Regions from separate parts of the Homo sapiens genome. Here region 1 is linked to region 2. The links are contacts of gene promoters, found by promoter capture Hi-C in blood cells and fetal thymus (Javierre and others, 2016). All regions are on one chromosome and are shown on one strand. Each heading gives the region's core, a stretch centred on a gene start or on the middle of the fragment in contact. The rest is flanking DNA. Distances are from core to core; before and after follow the strand shown. Region 1 overlaps LOC102724434 (a long non-coding RNA gene). Region 2 holds the start of CAV2 (caveolin 2).

The links. The method cuts DNA at HindIII sites, captures the fragments that hold promoters and counts their contacts. A CHiCAGO score of 5 or more calls a contact.
Region 1: a fragment that was not itself captured here is called in contact with the fragment with the promoter of CAV2 in region 2 in 5 of 17 cell types (endothelial precursors, megakaryocytes, total CD8 T cells and 2 more); the score reaches 13.4 in endothelial precursors.

What each region holds. Positions count from the first base shown.
Region 1 is chr7:116,282,201-116,285,741 of GRCh38, reverse strand. It overlaps LOC102724434 (a long non-coding RNA gene), which reads left to right. Exons shown (of 4, transcript NR_130922.1): 3 at 1,336-1,374. LOC105375463 (a long non-coding RNA gene) reads right to left here and starts at 263. Exons shown (of 7, transcript XR_001745336.2): 1 at 185-263. The HindIII fragment of the contact is 831 bases long and covers 1,172-2,002 here.
Region 2 is chr7:116,498,203-116,501,867 of GRCh38, reverse strand. It overlaps CAV2 (caveolin 2), which reads right to left and starts at 2,130. Exons shown (of 3, transcript NM_001233.5): 1 at 1,937-2,130; 2 at 1,421-1,608. The coding sequence starts at 2,086. CAV2-DT (CAV2 divergent transcript) reads left to right here and starts at 2,352. Exons shown (of 3, transcript NR_188012.1): 1 at 2,352-2,514. RefSeq lists silencers at 79-373, 2,158-2,247 and enhancers at 2,428-2,567, 2,614-3,115. The HindIII fragment of the contact is 7,148 bases long and covers 1-3,665 here.

The DNA of each region.
Region 1 (3,541 bases), core at 338-2,837, 220 kb after region 2:
ATTTACTCTTCACATATATTTTACAGGCACCTTCTTTACTATGGTCACCATATTAACACTGAGATCATCACTGTCCATCGCCACCTAACATTAAGCTAACAAAAGTTATAGAAAATGAATTCAACATTCAATGAATACCTTTTGAGCATCTATTGTGTATCAAATACTTTCAAATATAACTTACTTAACTTTCTCAACAATTTGGTGGAGCAGATACTGTCTCTTTCTTTATAGCTGGGGAAATTGAGGCTAAGAGAAGTTGGGTGAGTCATACTTTGCACTCAAACCTCTTTGTTTCAATTTTACTCTATGGAAGTGCCATATAATGCCCCAGAAAAATAATAGACTGCAATGTTTCTCAGCCCTGTCTGTTGAAAAATTATTGGTACCTAGGGAACTCAGCACAAATATTAACACCTTGGCCGCATCACAGAGAGCCCAATTTAATTGATTGGGTAGGGAAGGGAACAGAGGAAGCTAATTTTTAAAAACTCTCTTGATAGGTCTAACATGCAGTCATGGTGAAGATCTACTGATCTATTGTTTCTTATATATACTAAGTTATATTATATTATATATTCATATATTATATATTATAACTAAGTTTCTTATATTTACTGACTGCTTTCAAATTAATATGGCTTTAATTGTTGGGGGGCTGTATATAGTTAGTTCAGCAGTATCATAGACACTTCTGTTTCCTAAACTGGCATGATTTACTCAAAGCTGGCAATCATTAGAATTTTGATATTTATTTTACTGCTTACTCAGTAATATCTATTTCTGAATTGCTATTTTGGAGCTCCTACATGACTCATTAATTGCTATAATAACACCCCAGAAACAAATGTTAACACATCATATTAATAATTTTATCTTAAATCAGAAATATTTGCTCTAAATTTTTAAGGATCAGGTAATGAAAGTGAGCATCCAAACTCCATCTAGCACTAGGGTTTAGTCCTCTACAGCAAATGTGAAGGTCAGGGAAATCTCCAGAGTTTAGTATCACCTGAGAGTTGGGCAAAGTTAGAGCCAAATCCCTGGTAATAAAAATAGGGATCGGGTCATGTGTATATATACTATACACATGGCAAGTTTGTGTTGTGGCAAGTTGTGGCAAGTTTCATCACTGAAAGAGTGAAGGGTCATAGAGAAAATATTTCAAGCTTCCTGAATGCTCCAGGATCAAGGACATACCACAACAAAGTCACACTCTCTTAAGTTATACGGAGTGAGACTTTTTAGCCAGTCAGAAGCTATTCACAGAGCATTTGTAGAATTAGATGAGAGGAAACCTCATAAATCGTTTCATAAAATATTTTCTCTTTACAGATGAGAAAAATGAGGATCTGACATGAAAAGTGACTTGCAGTAGGTGCAAACTAGTGTCCAGGGCTCTGGCCTCCACCTCTGGTCAACTTTCACCACCCCATGTTATGCTAACCCCTGGCATTCTGTTTGTGCACAACCAAGTCTTTAATTTGTCCTAGTAGTCATATTTTTTTCCTCTTCTTCTTAAATTGATGTCTTCACTTGCTGTTTCCTTGGGTGTTGAAACCCAAGTCCCATCCCCTGAGGAACCAACAACATTGAATACGAATATGGCCATGAACTGATTGGCCAAATCTACTCTGACCTGTGCTCCCAAGGTGAATGACCTTGTTGGGGTTGACTAAGTCTTTTCCAGGGAGGTCAACATCACCTCAGCTATTTCAAAACAGAGCTAAAGTTCCAGTCCAGGGAATGGCTGATTCTTCAGGTGTGTTTCTGTGTGCACAACTTGTTCTTTCAACAACCTCCCCATGAGTTTCTGGAATGTGAAGACTACTTTTGTCTGAAGAAACCACTGGCCTACATATTTTTGTTATACACACATGAAAAAATTGTTACAAGAGGTACTGCTGTGACAAGCAATATAAAGTCTTGGACTGTTTCCTAGTTATTTGTCCGTACTTTATCCACCTGCCTGAGGAGAGTGGTACAATTTTGAGAGGAAGCTTGTGAGCGAAGTAGAGTAAATAAATTAACAAATAAGTAGACTGAAGAATAGGCATTAAACTATAAACCAAATACTTTCCATAATGGGTCCCTTTTGGCTGCATGACTTTCTTTGCAAATATCCTTTTTTTTCTAACCACTTGTACTTTCTCATTTTTAACACTCTCAGCCTTACTTAAACCCAAATTACTTCCTTTCTTTTCTCTCTTCTTTCTTCCCATTCCCCAATTCCCACATATTCCTCTTTGACTTTTCTAACTAAAGAGTAATTTTGATCACTGAATATGTAATATATATTATGGAAATTATGTATATATAAAATGTTTGTGTTTATATATATGCTATACGTAGTAACACACACAAACACTTTTCCTCTGCTATTGTATATATGTTATATATTCCTCTGCTATTATATATATTATATATAATTTAATATCAGAGGAAAAGAGAAAAAGCATTTTTCATGCTTATTTCATATAACAGTTCTAACTTTTTCACACTGGAGTAAACTAAAAGGGATTTGCAGGCATCTGCATGGGACCTGTTGAAAAAACATATTATGTATACTTTATCTATATCATTGTGATAAACACAAATATTAATGAAAAGATTGAATATTGAAACAGTCAAATCTTTGCAGTTTTTAAAATGAGACTTCAGTATGCTTTCCTGACCTTTTTTTCTTTGGCATATTTTCATGCCTGAAATGGTTAAACACTTCCTAGTCTCCTAGTCAAGTCTTATTAATGATGATTCCTGCAAGGTCTTAACAATCCTCATTGATAAGACACTTTTTTGCATAAGTTATAAAAATTAAAACCGTTAACATAACAGTTAAAGTGTATTTGAAAAATTTAGCACCTTGTGCCTTTTTTTCAAAAACAACTGTAAAATTAGAATTTCCCTTGCTAAAAAGAATAGATCTTTGAATCCAATACTTTTTTTTAATGCCAAGTATTTTGAAATAATGACAATTTAATTTGGGGACAGGTCTGTGTGTTAGAGGAGCTACTATGCAGCCAGCTTGGATGACAAAACAGAAATATTCAATATCTGTGATGCCAGAATGTAGGGGCCACTACTTGGAGCTACCTCTTTCCCAGCACCCACCTGAGCTTTCTGCTTCTTCCTTCCCTGTCCCCATCCCTTCCCCTACCAGGCTCACCTTAAGCTATTGAACATCTTGGACACCAGCTCTCTTGGCAGTCTCATGGACTCTGTAGTGAGTTGAATAGTGGCCCTCACAAAATATGCCCATGTCCTAATTACCAGAATCTGTGACTATTATCTTACGTGGGAAAAGGAACTTTGCAGATATAATTAAATTAAGGATCTTGAGATGAGGAGATCATCCTGGATTATCTGTGTGGCTCTAAATCCACTGACAAGTTATTTATAAGAAATGCACAGGGAAGACTGCTTAGACACTTCAGGGCATTATAGCAGAATATCATAGTCTGGGTGGCTTGTCAATAATAGGAAATTATTTCTCACAGTTCTGGAGGTTGGAAGTCTAAGGTCGGGGTGCCACCATGGTCAG
Region 2 (3,665 bases), core at 881-3,380:
TTTCCCTGGCAATCTTGGCACCTTCAACATAGTTTAATTGTTTACAACCTTTAGTGATAAAATTAAATTGGTGTTCTTTGTGTATCCTTTACGTATTTGGTGAATTTTCATTTATCCTTTCAAAGTCTTTTTCGACTCCTTTCACTCTTCAAAGCCTTGTCTGTTCCTCCCTCTTTGTCAGTTGACTGTGTTTTCTCAGCGTCCATCTCTGTACCTAGCCAGCTGCCCTGATAAGGCTGTGAGTAAGCTGAAGGCAGACCCTATCTCTCATTCATCCTGGCCCAGTGCCCAGCACAAACTAAGCACTCAATCAATTTAAAGTTTGTTGAACTAACTAGCTAGCTAACTGACTAAATAAATTAAGATTCAGGTGGTATAGAGAAATAAAGGATAAATTGGTAACTTCTAACAATGAACACCGAGTATTTATCAGGGTGTGGCAATATCATAAAAGGTGTAAGAAAGACACGGAGGTACCTTGGGTTATACCTTTCACCAGGACTAACCTGAAGCACTAGCGTGACAACTGTTGTGATACTGGGGATGATCTGAATATTCTTCCTCTCAGATTAAAGTGGATATTTTCTAACACAACAACATTTATTGGTAAAATATGACATTTTCCATAAAAAATTTAAAAGATGCTTAAGAAAGTTCTCTACAGTTTAGGACACATTTTGAGTATGAATAGAGTTACTCAAAATATCCTATCAATATACAGTGGGCTTCCATATTTCTTTCCCCTTTAATTATATGCCACTTCCATTTGTGTTTCATCAGTGAAAAAGTAATTTGGAGGCCTTCTCATTCATTATCCCGCAGCTGGAGTTTTCATTCGTTTGTACTGGGGGGGACCCTCGCCTTAACTGCACACACCTCCCTTTCCTCTGGGTCCCATCCTTGCCATCTGCCAGGGGCAAAGTTGAAGCAGCCCCTCCACACTACTGCTTAACCAGGTCTGACATCCTCATCCAATTCTACTGTCAGCGGCATTCTGCTCAGAGATCACTTTTGTTTTACCCCAAGCACAGGCAGTGACTGAATAAAAGGCAATGAAAGAAAGAAGAGTCCTGCCCAGAACCGCAGGTACGAGTCACAACAGGGCCCCGAGAGCAGCCTGTGGTAAGAAGTGTGGCTTCCAGGTACCCGCCTCCACACTCAGCCCAGCCTTATGTATGCAAGGAAAATCACACCCCAGGAAAGACCGACATTCTTTCTCCTGTTGAAACTCCAAGCCCAAACTGTTATTCTAAAGGAAGCGCATTGCCTTTCAAGGCCTTCCAGTTCTTCCTACTGCTTGGGAACTGATGCGCGTTCCTCCTCCTGACGCCGGCCTGGGATAAGAGGAGAGTAGGGGGCAGGTGGCGGAGAATATGCCCATGTTTCAGAAAGCCGGTCCACCCGGTGTGCCCCGTCTCACCAGATGTGCAGACAGCTGAGGGTGGCAAAGAGAATTCCCGCAATGAAGGCCAGGGGAATGGCCAGGAACACCGTCAGGAACTTGTACATTACGTATTTGCTGATTTCAAAGAGGGCATGGCTGCAGATCCACACTTTGTCAAAGGAGTGCGTAGTCACCGGCTCTGCGATCACATCCTCGAAGCCCAGCTGAGGAGACAGGACGCAGGGACCCCGAACTGTCAGCCAACCTGACGCCCCGGGAACCGGGAGCGCTTTGGGCGGGGGAAGCAGGAGGGAAGGACGTGCCAGGGCGTCCGCCTCTTCTCTTAGGGTCACGGTGGGCGCACAGGAACCTGGCTAAGAATTCCTGGCTACGCGGGCGGCCTGGTGACGGGTGGGACCGGGGAAGGGTGCGGGTCTCAGACCCTGCGGGGCCGACCCGGTAGCAATGGTGGGACGGGTTAGGGCGGGGCTGAGGGGCGCCCGCACCTCCCGGCCTCAGCGGGGACTTGGGCCCGCCCGCCCCGGGCTTCACCTTGAGATGCGAGTTGAGCCGGTGGGGATCCCGGTCCTGGTCCGAGTCCGCGAACTTCTCGGGGTCGGCGTACTCGAGGCCGCTGTGGTGGCTGTAGGAGTCGTCGTCCATGAAGAGCTGTACGTCCGCCTTCTCCGTCTCCAGCCCCATCGCAGCCTTGGTGCGCGGCCGCTGCAGCCCGGCTGGCGCGGTGCGGCTCCCGGTCCGCGCGGCCTCCCCTTCCCGTAGCGCCCGGCCCCGCCCCCCCTCGCCTCGCCTAGCCCTGCGAGGCCCGGGCGGCGGCCGCTTCCCGCTGTGGGCTCCAGCTCCCAGCCCGGCCGTCCCGAGCCCCGCCCCGGCGCCCCGCCGCCCCTCCCCGCCCACCTCCCCCGCCGGGGCGCAGGGAACCGTCCCCACGAGTCACAGCCCGGGCCCTGCAGTGGGCGGCGACGCCGGCAGCTGGGACGAGGAGGGCCTCCTGGTCACCCTTCTGGGGGCCCGTACTGTCATGCCTCAGAGCTGGCAAGTCGTCCCAGGGAAGACAACGGCCTTCCTGGAGGGAGGGAACCTTGTGGTTAGGCGCATGGGGTGCGAAGCAGGTATGTGCTCACCTCCGGCTGTGTTTGCCTTGCGTGCTGCGGCTCATGGTGCTGGTATTGAGCCTCTGGGAACCTCAGCTGCCTCGTTGGCAAAATGGGGGCTGTGGCATCTGTTTCAGGGGTGTCCGTGAGAATTAAATGTTAATTTCACATAAAATTCTAACACACATGGCCCATGGCCCGTAACACACAGTGATAAACTTCCAATCAACGTTGTTGCTGCTGTCGTGAGAGGTAAGGAGCCACAATGTACCTGAGTGCTAGGTACCTGAGTGCTAGGTGACCTGCAAGTGCATGTGGAGTTGGGTAGGCGAACGCCCTGGCCCTAGAGTTTGTGCCTTCAGATCTGAGGTGTGAGGGGAGATCTGATTTTTTTTTTTTTTTTTTTTTTACTTCCTAAACTACACCGTGTGTGTGTGTGTGTGTGTGTTTGTGTGTGTGTGGCAGAGTTTCGCTCTTGTTGCCCAGGCTGGAGTGCAATGGCACGATCTCGGCTCATCGCAACCTCTGCCTCCCGGGTTCAAGCGATTCTCCTGCCTCAGCCTCCCGAGTAGCTGGGATTACAGGCATGCACCACCACGCCTGGCTAATTTTGTATTTTTAGCAGAGACGGGGTTTCCCCATGTTGGTCAGGCTGGTTTCGAACTCCCAACCTCAGGTGATCCGCCCGCCTCGGCCTCCCAAAGTGCTGGGATTGCAGGCGTGAGCCACCGCGCCCGACCTCCACCTTTTAATTTTCTTGTGAACCAGACTGTCTTGAAAGATTCAGGAACTTCTAAGATGCAGTCACATCTGTGATTATCTTGCAGGCAGCACGGAAACAGAACCCTAACACAAAGCCACATTGCAATGGATGAATTAGCCTGCTGACCACTCACGCAAAGGTTTTCAGAAGGGAGGAGTTTGCATGTTCATAAAGGGCTTTAGGGTCTGGTAGACATATACGTGTGTTTGGGGAGGAAGGGCACTTAGTGAAAATTTGCCAAAAGCAAAACAATGAGAACTAGGCTTGAGGTGCAGGTTGCTCAGAGCTCAAAGTAGGCATGTAGTAGGTATTGCTGGATACAGTGTATTTGGAGCTTGTTGAACATATCAAATCCCCTTATGTGAACTGGATTTGAAGAATTGCTTCTTCCGAAAGAAAAAAGATC